3 separate regions of the Homo sapiens genome follow, and regions 2 and 3 are each linked to region 1. The links are contacts of gene promoters, found by promoter capture Hi-C in blood cells and fetal thymus (Javierre and others, 2016). All regions are on one chromosome and are shown on one strand. The core of a region is centred on a gene start or on the middle of the fragment in contact, and the rest is flanking DNA. Distances in the headings are between cores, read along the strand shown. Region 1 holds the start of ANGPT2 (angiopoietin 2). Region 2 overlaps MCPH1 (microcephalin 1). Region 3 overlaps MCPH1-AS1 (MCPH1 antisense RNA 1).

The links. Contacts are between HindIII fragments. The CHiCAGO score rates a contact against its expected background, and 5 or more counts as called.
Region 2: a contact is called between a fragment that was not itself captured here and the fragment with the promoter of ANGPT2 in region 1, in 12 of 17 cell types (naive B cells, total B cells, fetal thymus and 9 more). The highest score is 22.5, in naive B cells.
Region 3: a fragment that was not itself captured here is called in contact with the fragment with the promoter of ANGPT2 in region 1 in 5 of 17 cell types (naive B cells, total B cells, endothelial precursors and 2 more); the score reaches 9.6 in naive B cells.

The regions. Positions count from the first base shown.
Region 1 is chr8:6,561,281-6,565,550 of GRCh38, forward strand. It overlaps ANGPT2 (angiopoietin 2), which reads right to left and starts at 1,965. Exons shown (of 9, transcript NM_001118887.2): 1 at 1,367-1,965. The coding sequence starts at 1,654. The region is part of intron 12 of MCPH1 (microcephalin 1); the gene reads left to right. RefSeq lists enhancers at 782-1,307, 1,308-1,834. The HindIII fragment of the contact is 4,979 bases long and covers 1-4,270 here.
Region 2 is chr8:6,439,380-6,443,649 of GRCh38, forward strand. MCPH1 (microcephalin 1) reads left to right here. Exons shown (of 14, transcript NM_024596.5): 7 at 2,688-2,777. Among named protein-coding and RNA genes, the nearest start is that of MCPH1, 35 kb to the left of the region's middle. The HindIII fragment of the contact is 2,562 bases long and covers 1,279-3,840 here.
Region 3 is chr8:6,661,467-6,665,736 of GRCh38, forward strand. The region is part of intron 1 of MCPH1-AS1 (MCPH1 antisense RNA 1); the gene reads right to left. Among named protein-coding and RNA genes, the nearest start is that of MIR8055, 41 kb to the left of the region's middle. RefSeq lists a silencer at 3,359-3,408 and enhancers at 3,769-3,848, 4,099-4,198. The HindIII fragment of the contact is 8,157 bases long and covers 1-4,270 here.

The DNA of each region.
Region 1 (4,270 bases), core at 715-3,214:
TGAAATCTACATTTGATAGGTCATTTTGGTAAGTTTTTGTTGTTTTAAATGACTCCTCTTGACACAGTAACCAGTGGTGCTGGGAACATTCATTCACATTCATTCATTTAAGCTCATGACTCAAATAATAACTTAGTCGTTTCCTCTCTGAAGGTAGGGGAGGTAATGAGGAGCACCGATTAGGCTCCAAGATCCGTTCTGAGATTCAGATAAGGTGTCCTAACAAAAGGTTTATGGTGAAATGAAAGAGTGAGAAAATAATTGTGCTTTTTCTAGGGTCATGCGTCAAATGAGGCTCACCAACTTTTAAAAGACTTTACATAGCTTTAGATAATCACATTCCCTGCCATGTAAGCATTGTGATGTAATGGCATCATCATGCTACTTAACAATTAATTTATGCATTTTGTTTAAACTTCCTTTAGAATATATATAGTCCATATAAAGAAAATTCCAGGTTCGTTTTGGATTTTGTATAAATAGCTCCCATGTTTACATGTGAAAAAAAATTATTTATGAAAGAAAAACAGAGCTTTCAATATCCTATTTTGGTTACGTCTCCATAAAAACTCTAGGAAACAGTGGGATCATCTGTGAAACAGTGGAATCACCCCAAGAACAAACTGTCAGACAGACCGTCCTGTCGTGGCATGACTTGAACATAACCGTCCCACGTGGGGACGCATTCCGCACCGGTTGCTGGAACTGACGGGGGCTGCAGTGCTGAATACCTCTGGGACGCTTGGGAACTGTGCCCCTGTTTACAGACGGCAAGCCCTTAGTGGTAGGGCCCTGAGATTCTGAGAAACATAAGGTCTGCTTTATTTAATTTCCTCTCGTTTACCAAGAGTCACAACCTATTTTAGTAAATAAATTCAGGAAATTGGTAAAGCACTTTACTCCATCCGTTATGCCTCGGTCATCAGCATGGTTGTCACGGTCTCTCTGGCTCACGGGCTGCTGCGGCTCACAGCCTTCCCTCACTTGCCTGCAACCAGCTGAGAGCCTCCCTGGTGATGGGTGTTACTGAGCTTAAACGATGTAAACAAACAGAACGGCACACAAGTTGTGCAGGGAAGTATATTTCCTCTACCTTGTTAATAAAGATTTCTAACTTTAGAGATTTTCTGTATTGACTCTGGCATTCTTTCCAAATAATTATTTTCACCCCGGGGACTACCCACACACCCTGGGATAGAATAAAAGAAATTATCTTTCATTTGAGGGTACCAGCAACCCGCTCTCCAGCTCTAATCCTCTTCATCCTCCTTCTTTTTTTTTTTTTTTTTTTGGTTGTTAAAACCTGAGCTGCTGCCAAGCTGATCTTAATAGCATGTTCACAAAGACAGATGGATTTTTTTCCTACCTTCATTAGCCACTGAGTGTTGTTTTCCATGATGTTCTCCAGCACTTGCAGCCTCTGCACCGAGTCATCGTATTCGAGCGGCGCGTCCCTCTGCACAGCATTGGACACGTAGGGGCTGGAGGAAGAGCGGCAGTTGTCCATCTCTGGCAGGAGGAAAGTGTAGCTGCAGGACCCATGCTGGACCTGATATTGCTTCTTTCCTATGCTGTCCATGCTCTTCCGAAAGTTGTTATAGGCTGCGGCCAAGACAAGATCACAGCTCAGAGTAAAGAAAACAATCTGCCACATTCTTTCTTCAGTAATAAACCAGCAGCTTAGCAAACTTGAGGGCAAACACACGTCCAGAGTCCCGAGCTGCTGCCGTCTAAAACGCAGGGCTGCTACGCTGCCATGGCTGGGTCCGTCAATGAAAGTCTTCTCTTTCCTCTTTTTCCAGTAGCAAACCTGGTTTTTACTGCTGTGTTCTCTCCAGGCATGCAGTAAACTGTCAGATTGCAGTGGGAAGAACAGTCCTGCTCACTTGGGAGGGCTGTGTCAGCTTTTACAGAGCAGCTTTCACGGTCCTTTGTTCCTCTCTCCCCAGATCCTACAGTGTCAGTATCCGAATCAATCACTTTCCTTTCCTTATATGATAAGTTGATAAGAGCAGCCAGACATGTGTAGTGGGCTGCTCCGCCCTCCTGGCTTAGCCGTTATCTTCCTGTAGGGGGTCACTAGCCAGGCAACAGGAAAAATCAGAGCAGAATGCCTGCCCTCCAACCAGGACCCATGCTGCAGAAACCCTCTGGGAAAAACCGATCTGTTACAGGACCCCTGGGCATTTCCTAGGCACCACCCCAATTAAGTATTTCCTAGAGAGAGCAGTTGATCTCTTTTGTCTGAAACTGATTTTTGCCGTGCTAAGCTGGCAAAATATCTGAGGTAATAACTTTAATGTTGAAGTACAATGAAAGTTCCTGTTTTTTCCTTTAGGAATAAAAATATTACAAATAGGTCAGGACTTCGGTTTATTTTTGTTATTACAAATAAAGAGGAAGAAGTTTGGCTCCTGTAAACGTGTGCCTTTTCAGAGGGAAAAATAGATTCATTGATTTTAGTTGATTCTTGAACCACTAGCCAAGTTACAAAAGATTTTCATTTCCGAACAGTTGGATAGAAAGATCTGTTATTAAGTCACGTTAGAAACATCAGTTTCTGAGCTCTGACCTTTATTCTTTAAAAAAACTCCACTTGGATATTCACTCTAAAAATACACTGTACTGATTAAGTTCATTACATTACAATAGAGAAATTAGAATTTAAGTGCCTGTGTAGAAAGAGGAATACAAACTTTTTTTTTTTTTTTTTTTTTTTGAGACGGAGTCTCGCTCTGTCGACCAGGCTAGAGTGCAGTGGGGCAATGTTGGCTCACTGCAACCTCCGCCTTCCGGGTTCAAGTGATTCTCTTGCCTCAGGCTCCTGAGCAGCTGGGATTACAGGCAAACGCCACCACACCCGGCTAATTTTTGTATTTTTAGTAGAGACAGGGTTTCACCATGTTAGGCTGGTCTCAAACTCATGACCTTGTGATCGACTCGCCTTTGGCCTCCCAAAGTGCTGAGATTACAGGTGTGAGTCACCATGCCTGGCCCACAAACTTCTTTATTGTGTCAGAATTTGTTGACATCTCAGCATTTTGTAACACATTATCAATTACATTAGTCCCCCTTGGTATTAGACTCGGGCAAGTCACTTCCCTGTTTTAATTAAGCTCTAATGTCCTCATCTGTGCAATTCAAGGGGTGCACTCACAAGATTTTTCACCTTCAATCCTATGGCTCTGTAAGTTCTGCAAGTCACTTCCTTTAACAACTAAAACTTAATACTTCAGAGATTAATAATATGTTAACTCAGCAGCCCAAGTGTACATAGGGAAAAAGCCCCCTGCCTTTGCTGCGGTTTATCTCTCAAGGTACAAGGTTTATTATTCCCAGTGAGCGCTGAATAGCTGGTACACTGACTTAACAGACCACATCTACCCATAAAAGATCTTTATTTTTTACTAAGCTCTAACCGAAAGACAGCCTTTCCCTTATCAATGAATAGTTAACGAACAACAGTGTGAATATCTGTGACTTTCTCATCCTCAGAAATCAGCTCTTTTTATTTGCTGCCACAATACTCAGAACTACATTTTTATTAAACCCAGCCCTAGATCTTGCTACTGAACATTGGAATAAAGTAGCATGTGTCTTCTTTTGAGAAGGTGTTTATAGGCTTCACCAGACAACCAAAGGGTTCTGTCACACAGAAAAGCTGGAAGACATGCTCTGGAAGGATCTCATTAGTAGAAGAGGTAGTATGATTCCACCAAGGTTCTGGACATGGTTTCCACTAAGGGAACCAATTAAAGATGCTATACCCATCCGGACAGTGCACCGTCGAAGAAAGCATATAGGTCTTAAAGATGAGACCTGTGTTAGAACCCTGCTTCTGTGTGACCTCCAGCAAATGCTTCCATTCTTGGAGCCTCAGTCTCCCTAGTCATAAGATGGAGATCATTTTTTCTCTGTAGGGTTTTTAGGATTAAGATATAATTGTATGTTTAGAAATATTTGTTCCTTTTCTTTACAGGCATGCTCCATTAAATGGGGATCAGTTCTTCCACCATCAAATAGTATAACTCTGCTATTCTCTGAATGCAAAGCAGTGGCAGTGGCATAGGGTACAATTTTTTTATTTCCTGTTTGAAAAAGCATATTGTAAGGTATTAATATCACATATGTGGTTTTACCTTTTTTCAAGATTATTTTTTGTAGAGACGGGGTCTCACTCTTGTTGCCCAGGCTGGTCTTGAACTCCTGGCATCCAATGATCCTCTTGCTTGGCCTCCCAAAGTGCTGGGATCACAGGTGTGAGCCACTG
Region 2 (4,270 bases), core at 1,310-3,809, 120 kb before region 1:
AATGAATCATGTCTTTTTTTTTTTTTCTGAGATGGAGTTTTGCATTTGTCACCCAGGCTGGAGTGCAGTGGCGCGATCTGGGCTCACTGCAACCTCCCTAGTTCAAGTGATTCTACTGCCTCAGCCTCCCGAGTAGCTGGGATTACAGGCGCCTGTCACCACTCCTGGCTAATTTTTTTTTGTTTTTTTGTATTTTTAGTAGAGACGGGGTTTCACCATGTTGGCCATGCTGGTCTTAAACTCTTAACCTCAGGTGATACACCCGCCTCGGCCTCCCAAACGGCTGGGACTGTAATCCAGGCGTGAGCCACCGCTCCTGGCCGTGAATCATGTCTTTTGAAGGAATTTGCTTTAGATTAATGTATCTAAGGAATCAGTTTGTTTTTCATTATTTCTTTTATCTTTAAAATTTTTAATTACTGAAGTGTAATTCACATTTTAATAAAACATTTATCAAAGTAGCTAATAGTAAAAGTTCATCTTGATACCCATCTAATTGTACTCTTCTACCTGGGGGTAACCTGTATTTTAAGTTTAAGTGTTTTTCCAGATCTGTTTCAGTGTATCAGATATCTGTGTATACATGAAAAAGATACGGGTTTGGTTTCTGTGTGGAGGTGTAATTTCTGTTTTACCTAAATTAGATAATGACATATGTATTATTATCCGCTTTATTTACTTAAGAGTATCCTGGAGGGTTTGTTTGCAGCTTAGTTGTTGTAGACCTATTTTTGTTTTAAGATGCTCAAAGTAGTCTACAGTTTTGATATTGAAAATCTATTGGTGGGTATTTTTTTCCCAGTTATTAGAAATTGTGTTGCAGTTTTTATTCTTTTTTTAACCATATGGTTTGGTTGTTCTTGTTTTTTTGTTAAGCCATTTTCCTTTCTCTAGACATAAGTCTTTCCAGCTTCCCACCCCGACTTTTTACTGTTATAACCCCTGCATGTGCCTACGTGAATCCTTGTATTTCTGAGTACTTCGTGTATTTCAATAATACTAATTCATACATGCAGAATTTGATTTTTTAAAGACATAGAGTCTCCCTGTGTTGCGCAGGCAGGACATGCACTCCTGGGCTCAAGTACTTCTGCCTCACCCTCTCAAGTAGCTAGGAATACAGGTGTGTGCCACGATCCCTGGCTTATTGATAGATATAGTCAAATTATCCTTCAAAAAATTTGAGTCATCTTATTGTCACCAGTTGTTTATAAGAATGCCCCTTTCTCCATACTTGGAAAACTGAATGGCATTAGCCTGTAGCCTTTTTCAGTCGGAAGCTTGAAAAACTGGATCTGTTCTTGAAGTTACTTTTGATTAGAAGCAGGTTTAAGTGCCTTTTCATATTACTGACTGACTTACCGAATGCAGCTTTTAATGTGATCAACTATTACCTCGCTTAATTTTATGTCCTTTGTCCATATGTATCAGTTAAGGTTAGTTTCGGCTGCATATAACAAAGACAAAAACCAATGTGTTACAATCGATAGAATTGCCTTTCTCTGTCTTGCCTAGTTCAGAAGTAGGCAGCCAGGGCTGGGATGCCATTCCATGGTGTCTTTAAGAAACTAGGTTCCCATCTTTCTGTTGTACCTGCCTGGCTTTTCTTGCAAAATGTGTGTGCCTCCCAGCTAAGCCATCTCCTTTTGACAGCCTTACCAGACGTCTATCCAATATTCCTGTCTAATTCCATTGGCTGGAATGTGGTCATATGGCCACCCCTTTTGCAAGCAAGACTGAAATGTAGTCTTGACTGGGATGCATTGCTGTCCTGATAAAATCAAAGTTCTGTTGTTAAGAAGAAGTGAGAATGGACATTGAGGTAGATAACTAGCTGTGTCCCAGGTGGACATCCAAATTGTTTCAGTGTGCAATTATGTGTATAAACTAATTTGCCTTAAACTTTACTTTTTCTATTACTTGGCAGTGTTAATTCTGCTACTTTACTGCGTCCAGTACAGTTTAAAACTTAACTGAAAATTTTATGTGTGCTTCCCTTCCTTATCTTGGTTTATTCTCTTTTTTTGCTGAAGTTTTCTCAGAAAAGTATCCTTTTGAGTCTCTAAAAAATATCTTTGGATATAAGATCCAAACATTTCTTTTGTTTCTTGACTATTGTATGAACCGCCTTTGAAGATAATACTTACGATCTTATTTGTTAAGTCATTGACATCCTAAGTGTTTTCTATGAAACCTCTAGGATTTCTCAACCCAGCACAGCTGACATTTGGGTCTGGGTAATTCTTTGTTGGGGGCACTGCCCTGTGTGTGGTAGGAAGCTCAGCAGCATCCCTGCCTCTCCCCACTAACACTAGCAGTGTACCTACTGCTCTCCCTCACTGGCGATATCCAAAAATGTGTCCAGACATTACCAAATATCTGCTGGGACCCCAACGTCACCTCTGGTTGGGAAGCAGTGCTCTAGTTTTAGAGGTAACTATGATGAGCATCCTTGAAGAAAAATCCATGATTATCAAATAAGAAGACTAGAACAGACTGGAAATGTTCACTTAATTCTGTTGAGCTTCTGATTAGATTCAGGCAAGTTGACTTTAAGATCCCTTCTAACTTTGTGATTATAGGATTTAATAGAATCACCTATGATTAATAGGAGGACTTCCTGCTGGCTTCATCTGCTAAGAAATACTGAAACTTTATCTAATGCAGTGTCTTGGTCCTGTTTTTAGCTTCCCAAATGATTCAGCAGTCTCATGATAATCCAAGTAACTCTCTGTGTGAAGCACCTTTGAACATTTCACGTGATACTTTGTGTTCAGGTAAAATTTTTATTTTCCTTTCTGTGATATGTTTAAGTTTTGAGAATAATATGATTTTCTGATTTAGAATTTCATGTAGCAACTTCTGATGAGTAAAATAATTAGTTAAAACTAGAACTTCTAAATTTCCCCCTGAAATTAGGTATTATAATAAAATTAAGGCATGAGTTAAACTTCCTTTTTGGTTCCTATAGGTTTTTTTTCCTAGGCATTTGCTTTCTTGCTACAGAATCCATTGCTCTATTTAAAAAATTATTGTGAACGTATATGAACTAATCTGTATGCAGTTTAAACTACATAGAACTGAGGTCAGAGCTAAGGAAATGTTGTTTCACACAATGTATAATTAACACAAGGAACCTGTTATTGAACGGGGTCAGTGAAGTATGTAAAGATCGTCAATTGAGGAGATAAATAGAGGATTTCTAATTAGAAGCAGAAAGAACACTGGTAGGAATTAGTGCAGTTAGTTCCATGTTACGCACATACATGTTTGTAATGTGGGAGCCCTAGTTCCACTTAGGATGGTAATTTTTCATGGTCATATCTTCTTCGTACCAAATTTCTTACAGTTTCTTCACCTAGTCCCCAGTGGGGCTCAAGTAAGTAGCAGTGATCCCTGAAAGTACTATGTTCAAAAGTGCTTGAGATGTTATGGAAAATTTATCATGAAAGCCACAGCAATGACAAAGCGCAAGATGGCATCAAGATATTAGAAGTTTCAAACAAAGCCTCCTTTCAGCGCAGGGTTAATCCTTGTACTCTCACCTCTGTGTGCTGGAATTATTTACCCATTTCTCTTAAACAGTCTCCATCTTTTTATTTTACACTTGTTACATTTATTTCCTAGAAGTTGGAAACAAGTGATAATAATAGCTAACATTGATTTCATTTTTGTTGTTGTAGGCACTCCTCTAAGTGTCTTATTCACTGTTATCTCATTTATTCTCCCATTAGCCTTAAGAGGTAGGTTCCATCACCATCCCATTTTGCCAGTGAAAAACCAGGACACAGAGGTCAAACAGCTTGTCCAAGGTCATGTGGTTTGTGAATGGCAAACCCAAGCTTCTAACTTAGGCAGTCTGACATCACAGATTACACTCTTAGTGACATGTCACATTGCTTATCGGGTTTTTGAAAAGTGTGATAAAACATAAAACAATTTTAGGTGCTGAATAAGATATATTGAGCATCTAAAATTAAAAGTGACCTTATTTCCAACTACTGCCTTGAAGACACCTGGGGCACAGTTGGAAGGGAAGCTTTGGTGGTTACCTGTGTTCTTCCTTTTTAAAGTAGAACTTCAGTGATTTCAGACAGAGAGTTCTAACACTTACGTGACCTCCAGATTGAGTGATTTCTACAAAACACAGGCCCTCCACCAGCAAGTGCTGAGCCCCTATTGAGGGAGCCAGCACGGGACTAGAGACTTCTTCATATTCATTCCAGTAGCTTATAGCACAGTGACGGGCAGATGCCCACGTAACCATGGG
Region 3 (4,270 bases), core at 735-3,234, 100 kb after region 1:
GCCAATGAAACCTCAGCCAACGCTGAGGAGGGAGCACTCGAGGGGAGGAACGCCATCCTGGGCTCTCTAGGGCTGTTGTCTGTCAACAGCGAGATGAGAACAACGGGCAACAGCAGCAGCTCCGTCGGCCCACGGCCGCCCCAGGGGCCCTGGGAGGGCGGGAAGGGAGACACTGCCAGACCTCAGAGCTTGGCACCAAGAGCCAGTTATCAGCCAGATAATGTACTCAACCAATGGCGAGAAACCCGACCATGAACTTATTGGGAACTGGTCACAGAAAAGAGAAGGACTCTTTGTCCTGAGTGTGTGAGGCTGTGATGGTAGGAGCCGCAGGGCTGTGACTCACACGATGCCACAAGGTTCCTTCCAAAAACAACTGGGGATGCTGTGTGGGGAAAGGGCTGATGGCACAGTAGGAGGTAACGGGCTCAAAACTGACCTCCTTTTTAGGGGTGAGGAAAAGACTGTCACCTCATCTTGTGGCTTCAGAGCCCAGAAGAGATTGTGGAGCAGCGGTTAGAGACTTACGGAGGAATTCTGATATTTTTAACTCTTCGGCACTTTGCTTTTCTTGAGCAATTCCCACACCACCCCTTTTTAAAGATTTATTAGATTCAGGGGCTACTTTATAATATCCTTGGAGCCCAAATTAGACTTTAAGCACATAACATATCTGAGCTTGAGGAGTTTAACTTCTTCAACAAAGGAGCAAAGAGATTTGGTGAAATGACCCCCATGGTCCCTAATGCTGATGGACCCACCGAAGTTAGCCTGTCACCAGAAGCAAAGGGATACTATTTTTAAGATATGAGGATCTTTTCCACATTTCTGTTCAAAGCAGTAACTTTGCAGCTTCATCTATTGAAGGCCTCATCTCCACCTGCTTTTCCTACCCTGGATTCACAGGGCTTGTGGTGCCCTCTCCCTGCCTCCACTCACCTTCCAACAAGTGCTGGAGTTTGATTCACACCAAACAGAAATAGCCAAAATTTGTAAGAACTCTATTGGGCAGCTCTTCTGTATCAATGACTGTACAGGCTCCAAGGGCCAGAAATAATGAAGATACAGCACCTATCTCAGCGAGCTGACAGCCTTGAAGGGGGATGAGGCTGGAAAACAAATGACAACACAGTGTGATAAGTTCACTGCAGACCAGGGAGAGCGACAACTTTGAGAAAGGGTGATTGCTTTTAAACGGAAAGGAAAAGAGCTTGGGAAATACTTCCAGAAGAAACTGACATCTAACTTAGGTGAGTTTTCTTTTTTTTTAGGTGGGGTCTCACTGCGTTGCACAGGCTGCAGTGCAGTGGCTATTCAGAGGCATGGTCATAGCTCACTGCAGCCCTGAATTCCTGCACTCAAGCGATCCTCCTCCCTCAGCCTCCTGAGTGGCTGCAACTACAGGTGCATGCCACCATGCCTGACTCTCTAACATAGGTTTCAAAGGAAGCATAGGAGTTCCGAGTGGAAAAGAGACCAAGGGAGAGGCCCGTGCCAGTCCCGAAGGTGAGGGGAGGTCTGAGGGCCTCAGGATTGCTGGAACTTCCAGTGGAAGGGCACGTTGAGGGGACGCAAGTGAGATATAAGCGTTGGGTAGTTAAGAAAGGCTATTGAAATTTTCCAGACAAGAAATGTTAAGGCGCAGAACACAGTGCTCACAGAGAGGGAAAGGAGGAGGTGGATTAGAAATGAAATTTTGGAAATGAAATTATTTGCTGCCTGAGTGGCTACGCAGGAGGAGCAGGGGGACAGAGTCAATCTGGATGAGTCTTGGACTCAGGCATAAAGTGTCAGCAGTCTTGGGAGGATCCACATCCTCACGGGAACCAGCTCCTTCAGCTAAAGGGAAAAGGTGCTTGGTGCTTCAGCCGGCCCAGAGCGTGCCCTCCATGGACACAAAGAAGCCAAGTTCTTGTTGCTAAAGGTGTTCAACAGAGAAATGTTGGAGGGCCAATTAAAGGCAAAGCCCACCACTTTATAACCACATTTTAGGCATATTAAACATTCTAGAATGTAATCATCAGACTTCTAAACTGAGCCATTTGTGTTATCCAAGAAAGTAAATCAGTGACTTATGTTTGCAGCAATATAATGAACATTATAATGGACCCCTGAAAATGCAGAGTGAATGGTAGGGAATTTGCAAGAAAGGTAGAGAAACGCTCTACCACTGGAGACAAGGTGGAGAAGCAGGTTGACATCCAAGCTGGGGAACATCATGTTGACCGAGCATTGTGTATACACAGGGCGTGTGTGCATCTGCGTGTGTGTGCATGTGTGTATATGTGCATTCATGTGTGTGTGTATGGGAGGTGGGCCGGGACAGGGGAGTTGGAATGGAGACCAACCTGATAAAGCTGACACTCTGGAAGGGTTAGACTCCCAGGAAGAAAGTTAAGAAGGGAGAAGGATAACATCTGCACAAAGGCAAACACAAAGCAACATCCTTTGTCAGCAACATCCTTAGGCACCTGGAAGAAGCAGACACACAACTTCCAGGAATAATGTCCCTGAACCTGGGCTTCTGATGATTCCCACCAATATGACCATCAATTAGAATGCGTGCACACACACAATTCCAAATAAATCATCAAGACAATCATTAGGAAAAATAACAGGACCAGATAGACCAAGACTTCAGGTGTTGGCGTCATCAGATACGGATGATACATGTTAAAAGAAATAAAAGGACGGAAAACCATGAGAACGGAACAAGAATGATAAGATGGAATTGAAAAGGAGGCAGATAGAACTTACAGAAAAAATTTTTTAAACTTAGAATTTAATATTGTTTAAAACGTTTTAGGTCCCCACATAAAAATAGATGGCCTGGGTAGCAAACCTAAGCCAAGGGCACCTTATGAGCTCCTTACAAGGGGCAAATTACTGCCAGCCACGAGCCCCATGAGGTTCCAGGTTCTGCATGGGTGGAAGAAGGAAACTCCAGGCAGCAGCAGACAGCTCTGGGAACAGCAGAATACCACACAGCTCAAGGTTATTCTCCATCTTTTGCTCTGTATTACCAGGAAGCCCAGCAGGGCCAACTGGACGAAAGCGCTTGGGTTTTGCCCAATGCAACTGCATATAATCGAGAGCAAGGGACCCACAGCTGGAAGGGCCCAAGAGTCTGGAGCTCTCTATCTCCCATGAACTCTCAAAACTGACCCATCTGAGTGCCTGTCTGGGCCAGGGCCCTACCCCGAGGAGAAATTCCTGGGAGTAGAATCAAAATCAATCAAGACAGGCATGACAGAGACAAGAGAAAAAGAAGGTCCACACCAGGCCAACAAATCCCTCTGTTATGAACCAGATAGTAAACATCGTAGGCTTTGAAGTCCAGACGGTCTTGCTGCTACTACTCGGCCCTGCGGTTATAAGGTAAAAGCAGCCACACATGACATGTAAATGAATGGGCATGGCTGTGTGCCAAAAAAACTTTATTTATGAACACTGAAGTTTGCATTGTACACAATTTTCACGTGTGACAAAATAGTATTCTTTGTTTGTTTGTTTCAACCATTTAAAAATGTAAAAAGCATTTTTAATGCACAGGCTATACAAAACTGGTGGTGGGCCAGAGTTTGATTTCTGTCTCCTGGTGTTGATGAAAGAGGCTTTGAGAAAAAGATGCAGGAAAACTCAAGACAGGATGCCATGCTGCTTTTGGACATTACCAAAAACAGCAGAAGAGGGAGCCCCGCAAAGGTAAAAGAGCACTCCTACACCCAGCCACATCCTAAAGGCTCAGGCAAATGAATTTCCCATAAAAATAAGCAACAGAAAATATCCAAGTCAAATCCCATACAAAACTATTATAAGAAAAAGGTCCTAAGAAGCAGAATAACAGCCCAACAGACAATAAGAGCAGACACAAAGATGTGGCCGTCATGGGGCTCAGAAGGCCCAAAGTGCAGCCTCAGAAGCCAAGTTTCCCCCTGACCTTCCCTTGCCCTCCTGTCTCTCACCCCTCATGCTCCCCTGAGGGAAGCTATAGAAACTAGAATTCTTCCTCTCCCGAGGTGAGTCATAAAAACCAGAACCCCTTTGCCTCAAGGCCAGCCATAAAGCCTAAAAATATGACTCTAGCCTCCCCCTGCTTTTCTGTGTAACAGCTGGCAATAAAGAAATTAAGACCCTCATTGTAGAGGGACCCTACCCTATGCCCAGGAGGAGGGAATGTGGCACAGAGAGGCTGAGAAAGATCTGAACGCAGAGGCCTTGCTGAGTTTCCCCACACCATCTATTACATTCGATCAGGACCTTTCTGTCC